Regions from separate parts of the Homo sapiens genome. Here all the other regions are linked to region 2. The links are contacts of gene promoters, found by promoter capture Hi-C in blood cells and fetal thymus (Javierre and others, 2016). All regions are on one chromosome and are shown on one strand. The core of a region is centred on a gene start or on the middle of the fragment in contact, and the rest is flanking DNA. Distances in the headings are between cores, read along the strand shown. Region 1 overlaps JRKL-AS1 (JRKL antisense RNA 1). Region 2 holds the start of PIWIL4-AS1 (PIWIL4 antisense RNA 1). Region 3 overlaps JRKL-AS1 (JRKL antisense RNA 1).

The links. Contacts are between HindIII fragments. The CHiCAGO score rates a contact against its expected background, and 5 or more counts as called.
Region 1: a fragment that was not itself captured here is called in contact with the fragment with the promoter of PIWIL4-AS1 in region 2 in 1 of 17 cell types (naive CD4 T cells); the score reaches 5.6 in naive CD4 T cells.
Region 3: a fragment that was not itself captured here is called in contact with the fragment with the promoter of PIWIL4-AS1 in region 2 in 1 of 17 cell types (non-activated CD4 T cells); the score reaches 5.2 in non-activated CD4 T cells.

The regions. Positions count from the first base shown.
Region 1 is chr11:96,440,247-96,444,461 of GRCh38, forward strand. JRKL-AS1 (JRKL antisense RNA 1) reads right to left here. Exons shown (of 5, transcript NR_047481.2): 5 at 3,035-3,129. Among named protein-coding and RNA genes, the nearest start is that of JRKL, 52 kb to the left of the region's middle. The HindIII fragment of the contact is 5,718 bases long and covers 1-4,215 here.
Region 2 is chr11:94,737,772-94,741,959 of GRCh38, forward strand. PIWIL4-AS1 (PIWIL4 antisense RNA 1) reads right to left here and starts at 2,584. Exons shown (of 5, transcript NR_135093.1): 1 at 2,447-2,584. It also overlaps a transcript of AMOTL1 not described here. The HindIII fragment of the contact is 14,674 bases long and covers 1-4,188 here.
Region 3 is chr11:96,460,971-96,465,207 of GRCh38, forward strand. All of the region lies in intron 1 of JRKL-AS1 (JRKL antisense RNA 1), which reads right to left. Among named protein-coding and RNA genes, the nearest start is that of JRKL-AS1, 44 kb to the right of the region's middle. The HindIII fragment of the contact is 2,247 bases long and covers 618-2,864 here.

The DNA of each region.
Region 1 (4,215 bases), core at 1,477-3,976, 1.7 Mb after region 2:
CTGAGACTAAATGAGGGGAAAAGGTCTGTCACTCTTGCTTTCAATTGTTGGTTATCTCCAGGTTCATTGGCTAAGTGAACTCAAGTTGACTCTAAGGATCTGATCATATATCTATTCTAAGCATTCTATTTTGGTGTATTCCCTAGGTTTTTGTTTCTATGCCTGACTTCCAATTTTAATAAAAACAGTTACTTGCTGAGGACTAGTTAATTCAGACAAATTCTACTTCTGAAGAAGATTTAAAATCTGGACAAAATATTTACAATCTTTTAATAAAAACAATAGTGTAGAAAAACTTTTGAGATGACATCTGGGAAAGGAAGAATCAAAAAAAAGGTGAGCCCACCTGTAATCCCAGCACTTCGGGAGGCCGAGGTGGGCAGATCACTTGAGGCCAGGAGTTTATGACCAACCTGGCCAACATGGTAATACCCCATCTCTATTAAAAATGAAAAAAATTAGCCAGGCATGGTGGCACATACTGGTAATCCCAGCCACTTGGAAGCCTGAGGCACAAGAATCACTTCAACCTGGGAGGTGGAGGTTGCAGTGAACTGAGATCACACCACTGCACTCCAGCTTGGGCAACAGAGAAAGACTCTGTCTCAAAAAAAAAAAAAAGAAATAGCAAGCATAATATTTGAAGCTATATTGTTTTTCTTCAGGCATTTGCCACTTTGAAAGAGACAACAAAGAGGTTAACCAGCACTTTTGAAATATTTTTGAGATGTAAGTGGAACAAAAGTTGGAGTTGAGAATATGTCAGAGTTTGAGATCTAATGAACATCTTCACAGGGTGGCAATCTCAAGTGGATGTACCGTGGGTATTAAGGAAGCCATAACTAAATCAGCCCATTCACAGATATAGATGAGTATGGTGTAATGTAAGTGGTCCAGAAAATGTCAAATCATAAAATTTGAATTAAGGTAATCTTGGATTGCTAGACCTTCCAGGTACTTGGCAGAAGCAGACAAAATTCCACATTAGAGGAAGATAACATTACCTGAGGTCTCAGATTGTTTTTACAATAATTTTTCAAATGCCATGTTCAGGATACAATCAAAGATAATCAAATATCTGAGAAGGAAAGACAACGTAAGCAAGATAAAGTGCAAAAAGTTAAGAGAAACATACCCAGAGGTACTCCAGATAGTGGAATTATCACACATCCTTTGTAAAATCGGTATTTTACAATGGTTTAGAAATCAAAATCCAAATCTAAAAATTCTAGCAAGTTACTTAAAATGATAAAACACATAATTTCAGATTGAAAAAGAATTAGAGTTTCTATTTCTAAAAGAAAAACATAACAAAAATTGCTAAGGTATTTAGCTCAGTTATGCATAACCAAAGAGAAAATTGGTGAACTGGAACATGTCAGAAGAAAATATTCATTGCCAATTTTATTTAATTGTAAAAAAAATCCACAGAGGGATTAAAAAATCTGGAGAGTAAGAGACATATAGAGTAAGATGGTCTAACCCTTGTTTAATTGGAGTCTCAGATAGAAAGCAGAGAGAGGATGCAGCAGAATTTGAAGAAATAATGCTGAGAATTTTCTGAAATGATTAAAGACATCAGTTTGCAAATTCAAGATGCTTAATGAATCCCAAGAAATATAAATAAAAAGATACCCACACCTAAATATATTATAGTGCAATGCTAAAGGAAAATCTTGAAAGCAGCCAGGAAAAAAAAGAATATTACCTGTAAAGATGTAACCAATGGAATAACAGATAACTTCTCAATAGAAACAATAGAAACCAGGTAACAATGGGATAATATCTTCTTAGTGCTGACATGAGTGAATGGCTGAAACTCTAATAGAAACCATATTTTTTCTGAACGGAGTATAAGGAAAAGGAGCATTTCTGAGTCTGGGAGTATGGCGGTGTGTGGAGAATCCCAGAGAGGAGGGATCCAGAGAAAAGGATTCCCTAACTGCATGCAAACCTGCACAAAGTCTCAGTCTAACCCATAAACTATACATGCACAGAACAGGCCCAATTCAGCATAGCTAAGGCTTTGAAAACTGAACTGAGACTGGAACTGCTTATAGAAGTCTCAGCCTAACCCCTAAATAACACATTCATAGGACAAATGTAGACCAACATAGTGATGATTTCGAGCTAAATGAAGATTAAAATCAGGGCTCACAAAAGGTGAGAAACAGTACAGTCTGAATATACCCAGGTTTTTTGCTTGCTAAAACAAAAACATTAACAATCTCAAGAGGATTAAAATAGGAGCAAGAATCTACACACACAATTTAACATTCACAATTACAATATCCAAGAGGAATACAGGAATTCATTTTACTATTCTTTAAACTTTTCTCTAAATTTGAAATTATATTTTTAAAAAAGTTACAAAAAAGAAAAAGAGTCAAAGGGAAGAAAATTTGAGGCAAAGAAAACATCCTTGAAGTGGGAAAGAGCCTGGCATGTTATAGGAACTAAGAGAAAAACAGTATGGCCGGAGTGTGTTGACAAGGTGCCAGGTGGCAAGTGATGAGGAGCAGAAAAGACAGTGGAAACTGGGGCTAGATCATGCGGGTTCTCATCGGCTATGGTAAGGAGTTTGGATTTGACTCTGATGGGAAGTCACTATAAAGTTCTGAGCAGGGATGTGACAAGATATACCTTGCAGTTAATTTCAGGGAATTATTCTAACTGGAGTTGCTTAGGCTACACATCAGCCTCTGAGTCACCCAATCACTGTATCTACAGAAAAAAGGAATAACTAGGCCTTCCCTTGGTCCTCTTATCCAGAGGATGAGGATGGGGAAAATCCCCACTGGAACCCTGTGGGACAGCCAAAACCAATAGCTGCCACTGCCCACAATTTGCTATGCCTGGGCTGCCCAGCATATCACTGTTTGTGACCCCCCTACAGCAAACCTGCATTTCCGTCTCAGTTCTAATAACATCCCAAGTAACATTACAAATGATCCCACATTCAACACCAAGAATAAGAGCAAAAGCCCCTACTTACACTCTCTCTAAATGGAGATGGCGTAGAAATAGCATTTGGTTTCTCTATTCTATTCCAAGTCCAATATCTCTGGGTGATAATTATTTCATATAGTCAGGTTTGAATGTGGCTCTTCTTGACCCTGCAACTGAAGGCTAGATGCCAAATTGAATGTTGGAAGGAAAACGGTTATTCAGCAAGTTAGATGCAGAGGCTGGCCCTCTCCCAGAGGGAAGGGCTATGCCTGAACCCAATTATCCACTGTAACAGGAACCCCTTTCCAGCAGCAGGAATGGCAGCAGCAGCAGCATCCCACCACTCAGAAATTATCAGGTGATGGCAGCTAGCATTCTCAGACGGCTCCTAGCCATGTTGGCATTTATACTCAGACAACTTGGTGTCTACATCCTTTGTATTTATACCCCATATCTGAAATTTATCATGATTGCATGTTATGACAGTGGAGAGTCAGGATCCCTCTCCTGGGGGCAGGGACCTGGGGTGTGTCCATCAGTATGCTGAACTGATTTTTAGACCTCTCTTTGTGATAATAAGACAATGCAGACTATATGCCTCTTAAATTTAATCCTTGATTTGTATGTTTTCCCAATAAATCCAGTTGCTTATAAACTTACCTATGATATTGCAGAATTTGCCCTCACTCATTTTTAACTATGATTTTTTTTTCTGTTTTATAGAAGGGAATGAATACAGTGAAGTTGCTCTCCTGCAGGTTGTATTACATTTGCTAGATAGGTATGTCAAAGATCTCTTTGCCCTAGTAGTGGTCTGATTTCCTGTATTAGGATAGACTTGATTTTTGTTCAGGTTCTGCTTGCCAGGAGTATCTTCCTGGTCTGTGATTTCCAGTGGCAATTCCCAAGAGTGGCATCAATGAGGATTCACCTTCTGAAGTGTTGAAGACCTCTATTTATTTTGTCTCCCAGCATACAGTCCTCTCCTGATCACAAAATCTCGCCTCTCTAAAGGAAACACATTCCATATATTTGAGACATAGCTACACCCCTTCTGCCTACCAAACCTCCCATTCTTCTCTTTCTTCTCCCAGCTACAGGGATGGGCACATGAACCTAAACCAGAGGGTCAGACTCCTCCTCAGAACTCCTTTTCAGGGGTTTTTGGAGAATATGTTCTCTTATGACTGCAGCTGTAAGGTTGGTGGGTTGTGAGTCTTGGGGCCCTGGAGACCCTGTGCCTGCTACGTGGAGAGAGTGAGAGAG
Region 2 (4,188 bases), core at 1,334-3,833:
CTGATAATTGGAATTGGCAATGGCAAAGCCATTCTTGACCTTGACAAGAGCTACTCTGGCAGAGTGAGGTAGAAACCTATTTAGGCTGCTTGTAAGAGCAAAATGGAGAATGGGTGCTATCAGTGTAGACAATTATTTTAATGAATTTTGTTGTAAAGGGGAGATGAGAATTGGAGTAATGGCTGGAGATACATAGAGTCAAGAAAGGATTTTTAAAAAGACAGGATCATAGTAGTATGTCTGTATACTGACAGGAGTGATCAAGGACAGAAGAAAATATTAATCCAGGTGGGAAGAGGGAAAAGCCACATAAATGGGATCTGATCCATACAGGAGGCCATAATGGCCTTAGATGATTCATCCATAGCAACAAGAGAGCGGGAGAGTAAATAAACAGGCAAATGCAGAGTGATTGCTGGGCTGCACTAGCTCCATTTGATTTTAGTGGACATGAATCGAAAATAAGACCAGAGAGCATAATTTTGTGCTTTTTTTTTTTTTTTTGAGACGGAGTCTTGCTCTGTCACCCAGGCTGGACTGCAATGGCGTGATCTCTGCTCACTGCAACCTCCACCTCCTGGTATCAAGCGATTCTCCTGCCTCAGCCTCCTGAGTAGCTGGGATTACAGACATGTGCCACCACACTTGGCTAATTTTTGTATTTTTACTAGAGATGGGTTTTCACCATGTTGGCCAGGCTGGTCTCAAATTCAGGACCTCAGGTGATCCACCCACCTCAGCCTCCCAGAGTGCTGGAAATATAGATGTGAGCCACCATGCCCAGCCAATTTTGTGCTTCTTCAATCATGTTTAGCTGGGTGTAGATGGAAAGAAGGTGGAGAGTTATATTTTACTAGGGTTGTGTTTTCACCAGGTAAATAGCATGGAAAGAGAGCAGAACATGGATTTGAAGGTGTAAGTAAGAGAGAAATAATAATGAAACTGGAAACTAAAGTCCATAAGGAAGGAAGGAGGGTCATGAGGAGAGTGAGGGGCAGAGAAAAGGTCATGGATAAGTAAATTATAGATGCTGGTGGGGTCAAGGACACATTGGATTAAAATAACAGAGGGGATAAGCTGGAAAGGTAGGAGAGTGGATTACTTCACCTTGATATTATGCATGGTGTCGCTATGACAGCAGGGGGCTGGTGTGGTTGGAGCAGGTCAAGAAAGGGATAAGATGCAGAAGAGTTGAGAGATCAGAGTGTGACTATGTAGATGGAGAAAAATAAGAATAATCACAGGAATGATACTGGGAAAAGTGACAGTGAATCAGATGCCATTATCTTCAAGAAATGAGGTAGAACAACCAGAGGATCCATAGATGGCTGAAATAAGTAGAGGAGGCAAGTAATGCAGCCTGTTATTTTCAAGGAAAGCCAGGTATGGGTCAGAGCACAACACTGAAAGAAACATTCAGAGAGGAGGCTGAGGATATATAGATTTTGCTAGCGATGAACCATGAGTTCCAGAGGACAAATGGGAGGATTCTAGGAGTTGGGAGGGGATGGAGTGATGAGTGCAAACCCTCACCCAAACATATTTAATTCCTGGATTTGGGAGCTCAGATTATAAGAAGCAGGAAAAAGAAGAGGTTGGAGAGATAGGCTCAGCAGCTCAAGAATGCTGCCTTGCTTGGGGAGGACAGCCCCACCCCTGCTTCCCTGGGCTCCCTAAGCAATGCTGGCCGAAGGGGCTTTCTGTCCTTCATGGTGATTTGTAAACCAAAAACTGACAGTGGAAAAGCCAGAGATGGCTGAGTGTTTACAGGATGAGAGCACATTGGCTCAGATCGGGGCCCTTAGGCTGCTGCAGCTGGTGCTCTGATCACTTTGAGACAATAGAAGGCCCCCAGGAGGCTGCCCAGACTGTTGACCCTCCAATAGTCCTCCAAGGATGGAGAAAGGACAACCATTTCCATACTTGTTCCTTCCTTCCCACTGACCCTGTTATGGGCCATCAGCTGCGGGGCTCTCTCTGGAGCACACCCCAAGTCCAGCACCCTCGCCCCCTTAATGCAGAGCAGTCACAGTCAGTCCTGGGGGCTGGGGGGAGATACATAACACATCTGTCCAAGTTATCAGGCTACTGACTCAGAGGGGGAGGTTCTCACAGTGTTACATTAATTATTTTAGAATTTACAGTTCTCAGAGCATAACCATTGCTTCTACATTCTGTATTTGAAAGCAGTCAATCTTTTATAGAGTAGAAGGAGCACTGCTCTTCTCTCCTCCCCCACTTCTCCCTCACATACCCCTACCATAATGATGTCACGCATAAATTAACAACTTCTCAGCCTCGGTTTCCCAACCTGTGCAATGCAGCTCATATTACTTTGCCCACTTGAGCCAGGTGATCTCTTGAAGAGTAGGAAATAATGTTGGACTGGAGTTGGAATTCTGGTTCCAAAAGGAGGGGATTGGGGGGCATTTGGGTCTCCTCCTACCTTTCTGCAAGCTCTGAAAATCGTCCATCTCCTCAGGAGAAGCCCACAGAACAAACGATTTCCCAAGCATCAGAGGAGGGCAGACATAACATAACAGAGCAGGGAATCGGGTTAGAACGGGTTATGCTCTGATTTTTTGGAAAATGGGCAAACGGGGCGGGGACTAGGGAGGATTCCGCCAGCCGGGAGTTGGGAGGCCGCGCGCGCCTCTGCGGAGCGTGACGGCCACGGTCGCCTAGCAACGAGCGGGGATGCGCGGGGCGCCTGGGTGGGCGAGGGGTGCTCGCCGCCGCCGCCGCGCGCCCTCGGGCCCCCGGGACCGCGGGAAAACTTCGCGGCTCCTCGGCGCTGGGGCGTCGGCGCCAGGCCCGGCAGACAGAGCAATGCGCCCCGCGGGCTGAGGGCAGAGGATGCGGCCGCGGCCCAGCGCCCGGCCGGGGGAGCCGCGGGGTGGCACGCGGGGAAAGTTGGCGCGCGCCTGACCGCGCCTGGAAGCCGCGCGGTGCCAGGGCCGAGTTGTCCCCCAAGTTTCTGCGGCGATTTGTCACTCCCTGGGGATCTGGCGGTCTGAATCCCGCGGGGCCTCCGGCTCAGGGATTCTGAGCGCTGGGAGAGAGAAGCCCGCGCTTTTCCCGGGGACCTGCGCTTGAGCTGGTGCTTGTGCGGGTTCGTCCTGAATGGTAGCGATTCGAGTTGTTTTCTGCTTTTCTTCTCCCCCAGACAGTGAGTTTGTGGAAGCCTCGCCCGCATCCTACAGCCCAGACGAGTTAGGTAAGTCTGCTCATTTTGTCTTTTATTTCTTGGTCGCAATTCTGCCCGAGAACTGCGAGTTTGGGGGGCGTCCATAGGAACTCAGCTAGGGATGGGGCTGGGGTTGGAGGGCGGAGGGAAAGGGTCAGGGGACACCTGCTGCCTTCGCGGCCGGAACCGGCCTTTCCTCGGCGCTGTGCTTTCGGGGGTGGCAGGGCAAGTGTCCAATGAGCCGTGCGTGTGTGTGTGTGTGCGTGCGTGTGCGTGTGTGTGTGTGTGAGTGCGTGTGTGTGCGTGTTCGTCTGGGGCAGTGGTGCTGCTCCGAGGAGCCTGGCACAGCAAACTTCCAGAGCTGGGGCTTCTGAAACCTGCGCTCATCTTGCCGGGAGGACACAGCGGCGACTGGTTCTGACTTGCCAAGTACCTGGCACGAGAAGGACGTCGTGTGGGTCGTCCTTACCCTGAATTTAATGAAGTCAGGGGCTGAAAACGGCGGTGTAATCATTAAACTGTAAGACCTAGGAGCTGCTTCCCTCCCTGATTTCTATTCCTCAGTTAGCCTGTAGGTGTCTCGAGATAGGACATTCCATCCTCATGCCTGTCATGGTAAGTGGAGATTTGCGATGGGTGAACCGGGACACTCTTGTCAAGAGACAGGCTGAAGAGAGAGTGAAGAGAAGGAAATGCGAATGGGCAGGATCTCTCTAACTCTTCCTGCCACCCATTCTCACTCGGTGGCTTAGTGGCTCTCTTTTTTTTTTCTTCTGCTTTCAAGGTTAGTTTAGCTGCTACTGGTCTGGGCTATCAAGTCTCTCCTTACTGTTCTTTCATCACTAGCCTGAATATCTTGCCTTCCTAAGATGAAATGAAAGGATTTATTTTATGATATATGTTGACAGTAAAGGAGGAGGGGAACTGTCCACAAACAGCGGTTTAAATATGTTTATCCTCAGTAACACACTCAGCTGTGGCACCCTGTCCCTGGTCAGCTT
Region 3 (4,237 bases), core at 491-2,990, 1.7 Mb after region 2:
ATCAAATAAGATTGTGTATCCTCTTGATTTGTCATCTCTAAAGAGACAGGGTCCATATCTTCCAACATGCTTTGTAAGTGCACTCAGCTCCATGCTCTACTTGGTGCTGATGATGCCAGCTAGCTTCTGATTTCAGCAGAGAGATACTATTGAATTCATCTGACCTCTGCACTGAAAATAGATCTTTGCTGAAAAGAAGGCAATGTAAAATGGGACCCTCATTTTTATCCTTATCTATTGGCATAATTGCTGTCTATTTATTTTCAATTGTTTTGCATGCCAGTGTTTTTCAAGGACTGACTTCTAAATATGCTTCAAAGAGAGTAAAACTGCATAATAAAAAAGTCAGAGAAATTTTAAAAAGATGGGTTAGCTTGTAAAGGGGCAGGGGTTTGAGTGACTATGTAGAATTCAAATGCTTCTCATTACTAGGATAAGCGGAAATCTTTCTTTCCTAAAATTAGAGTGGTTGGGGAAGAAGGGAGCATTTATTTGTTAAAAATTAACCTTTCATGATTGAAGAATTGATAATAGGCATAGTCCGAGTAAGTGGGAATTGGTTGACTGGGTAGAAGTGATTGCAGGGGAAGTTCTTGAAATGGAGACAAAGAGCTAGAAGCTTCATCCTTTCTGAAAAACAATATGGAATCAAGTGGATTCAGATCGTGGTTAAGAGTTTGAAGATTTTAGACACTGACAAAAGTATATTTAATTCCTGGCTCTATTTTCTATCTTAGTGATATGTGGCAAATTATTTGACCTATTCATGACTAGTTACTTCTTAAAAAGTTTTAAAAAATATTCAGTAATATTTTGGAAGTGGGGTAATTGTTCTTGTTACATTAGATAGTGTGATGATTCAAGGAGATACTGAACCATGCTTGGAATAAAGTGCTTAATAAAGAGTAGCCCTTTACTCTTTACAATGTTGATAATTATCAACATTATTACGTAAATACAGACTTCCTAGTGCTTAGGCTAAGATAAAAGAGTATGAAGAGGCATTTTACATAATTACACCATGAGGGTGTGCCCAAGAAAGAAGCATCATATGTGTGTTTGTACGTAGGGATTCTGGGAGACAGGAACTCATTTTTGCTAGACTGGATCTTGAAAGACTGTGTTGCTAAAGCTATAGCAGCCAGAATCTTGTTGCCATGAGGAAAAAGCCTGGAATTTCTAGTGATAAGCATGAGCAGAAAAGTAAAGCAGTACAAAGACAGAAAAATAAAAAGATATGGAGAATCTCAATCCAGATAATGTATGTGATCTCTGAGTCTAGCCATGCCTAATGTTGGTGCAACCCCGGATTTTCTAATTCTTGAGCTAATAAATTCTGAGTTTGAGTCTTGAGTTTTCAGGTACTTGCAACAGAAAGGATCCTTTAAAAATAATTAGTTTTTGATAAAAAGAAGGGTATTTTCTCCCCTCTTTCTTTCTTGAGTTTAGACATGATGCCTGGAGCTATATTAGTTGGATATCCACCTGGAGGCAAAAATCTTGAGGCAAAGGCTAACAGAAATGCTGACATATTTATCCTGACAGTTTAGAGCCATGGAAGTAATGCCAACCTCACTTTTTGTATTAGTTTACTGGAGATGTCATATAAAGTACTACAGATTAGGTGGTTTAAATGACAGAAATGTATTTTCTCGCAATGCTGGAAGCTAGAAGTCTGAGATCAAGTAATCAGCTCGGTCAGTTTCTTCTGACACCTCTTTTCTTGGCATGCAGGTGGCTGTCTTCGTGTGTTTTCCCATGCTCCTCCCTCTGAGTGTGTGTGTATCCAAATCTTCTTTTCTTTTAAGGATACCTGTCATATGGGATAAAGTCCCACCCTAATTACCTTATTTCAACTTTATGACCTTTATAAAGATAGGATTACCTTCTGAGGTACTGAGGATTAGGACTTCAACATATGAATTTTGAGGGAACATGATTCAGCCCATAACACTTTTATTACAGAAAGGCAACACGTACAGAAGTCATCATATTTCAGATTATTTTGTTAATATTTTAGAAGCTAAACAAATAGTTTAAACCCTGTTGGAAGTAGTTTATTTGAATTTCTATTTATGCAGATATATTTCTTTTGACTTACTAGGAGCTGGGCTATGATCTCATGCTTTGGTAATACATACAATTCTCGGAAGAAAAGGGTTTGTAGACAAAAGATGCTTTGCTCTTGAATTCAGGGACTATAGATTGTCTTTCTCCTTCATTTTACAAAAAAGGACCGTTTTTCCCCCCAGAACTCCAACGAATGAATTTAGGGCTTTAATAGCTTAGAGAGATCATGGGAGGAGGGAAAAAAAACCCAACAAAGTGGACTGGGGTTCATAAGGGCGTGATCCCAGGCATACAGAAGGAAGTTTGACCAAGAGGATTAATAATAGCTCCTGCCATTACCAGAGTACTGTCTAACTCCTGGAAGCCAAAAAGTAGCCCTCTTACCCTTTCTCTCCAAGACTAGATCACTTTACTCTATCCTAAAACTTGAGCTGATAATTGCAAATGTTAACGTTTTCAACTACACAGGGGAGGCATTGCCTTTTTGGGAGCTTAGCGAGAACTTCAGCAGACTTTCTATATCTCCCCAGGGGGTGGAAAACCTGCACAAGTTGGATTCCAGGCCTGTTAAGTTAAAAAAAAAAAAAAAAAAGAAAGAAAGAAAAAAGAAAAAAAAAAGAAAAAGAAAAAGAAATTTATCTAAGTGCCGAGAAGAAAAGTCAGGTTTTAAAATATTGTCCATGACTTGTTTTCTAATAGCTTCTAATTTCTCATGGAGGCAATCGTATTTGAAATGAGATTTGAGTAAAAAGGAAAAGCATGGTATTTGCAAACTATTCATCCATATACAATAAAGCTTTAATGATTTTTTCCTTCCACGATTTTAGCATAAAGTCTGATCCTATGGTCTTTACATAGGTTGAGCTTTTACATTTTTAAAATGGTATTTCAGCTTGATTAGGAACTCCAAGGGGAGAGGGCTGATCCAGACTAGAATCCAGACAGCTTGTTCACCCACTGTATTTTGCCCAGTAGAGGGCACTTGGAACTCACACATAAATTGCAGTGGCATCAGTGGTAGCGGCGGCAGCAGCAGCACTTAAGATATCCATTTTCATTGCCATGGTGATTCTTTTTTTTTTTTTTGAGACCGAGTTTCTCTCTTGTTGCCCCAGGCTAGAGTGCAATGGCGCGATCTCGGCTCACTGCAACCTCCATCTACCAGGTTCAAACAATTCTCCTGCCTCAACCTCCCAAGTAGCTGGGATTACAGGCACCCGCCACCACGCCCAGCTAATTTTTTGTATTTTTAGTAGAGACGGGGTTTCACCATGTTGGCCAGGCTGGTCGTGCACTCCTGACCTCAGGTGATCTGCCTGCCTCGGTCCCCCAAAGTGCTGGGATTACAGGCGTGAGCCACAGCGCCCGGCCGCCATGGAGATTCTTAATTAACAGATAACATCAGGTTTTCATTGACACTGGTAAAATGAGGTGACTGTGACCTTGAATAATAAAATCTGTAATCATTTTGGAAATATCAGGAGTTGGAAACTACTTAGATATTTCTTCTTGGTGATTGTGCTGACCTGTAATCAATACAAACAAAATCTAAATTGCAAATTATTCTTCAAGCTACATCCCCGGGGTAAAAATTTTATTTCTTTTTAAAAATAAAATTGAATATATACTTGTGACAGCTTTAGGATAAGAAAGTAATAGACATATAACATCTATTATTCTTACGTGAGGAGAATTGAATTGCTTAATACTTTTAAGTATCAAATAAACAAGTTTCAGGCACAGGAAAAAGGAGTCTTAGAATGTTGAGATTCAACATTTTCCCCTTCGTCCGCAGAGTACAGCTTAAGCAGCAAAATGAGGAAAACGACATTCTCTCTCTGTTCTGTTTACAAGTCAAAAGCTTTGATTTACCACTAGAGGGCACTCATTACCCTGTTATCTTTCTGAGGCCTTTAGCTCAGCAGGGCTCCCATTCAAACGGAATCTCTGCATTTACTAACATTTGTGAATTATTTAGGAATAATTAGAAACACCCCATAATTCTGGACAGATTTTTTTCTTTCTAATGCTTCTTCTGATTGTGACGAAAAGTCCTTGACTGCATCAAATGTAAACTAGAGGGACTTAGCAAATTCAGATTGCTTTTGCAACCATACATAAAATGTACTTTACTATCATACATTTTTAATTTTTATAAAGCAAAGTA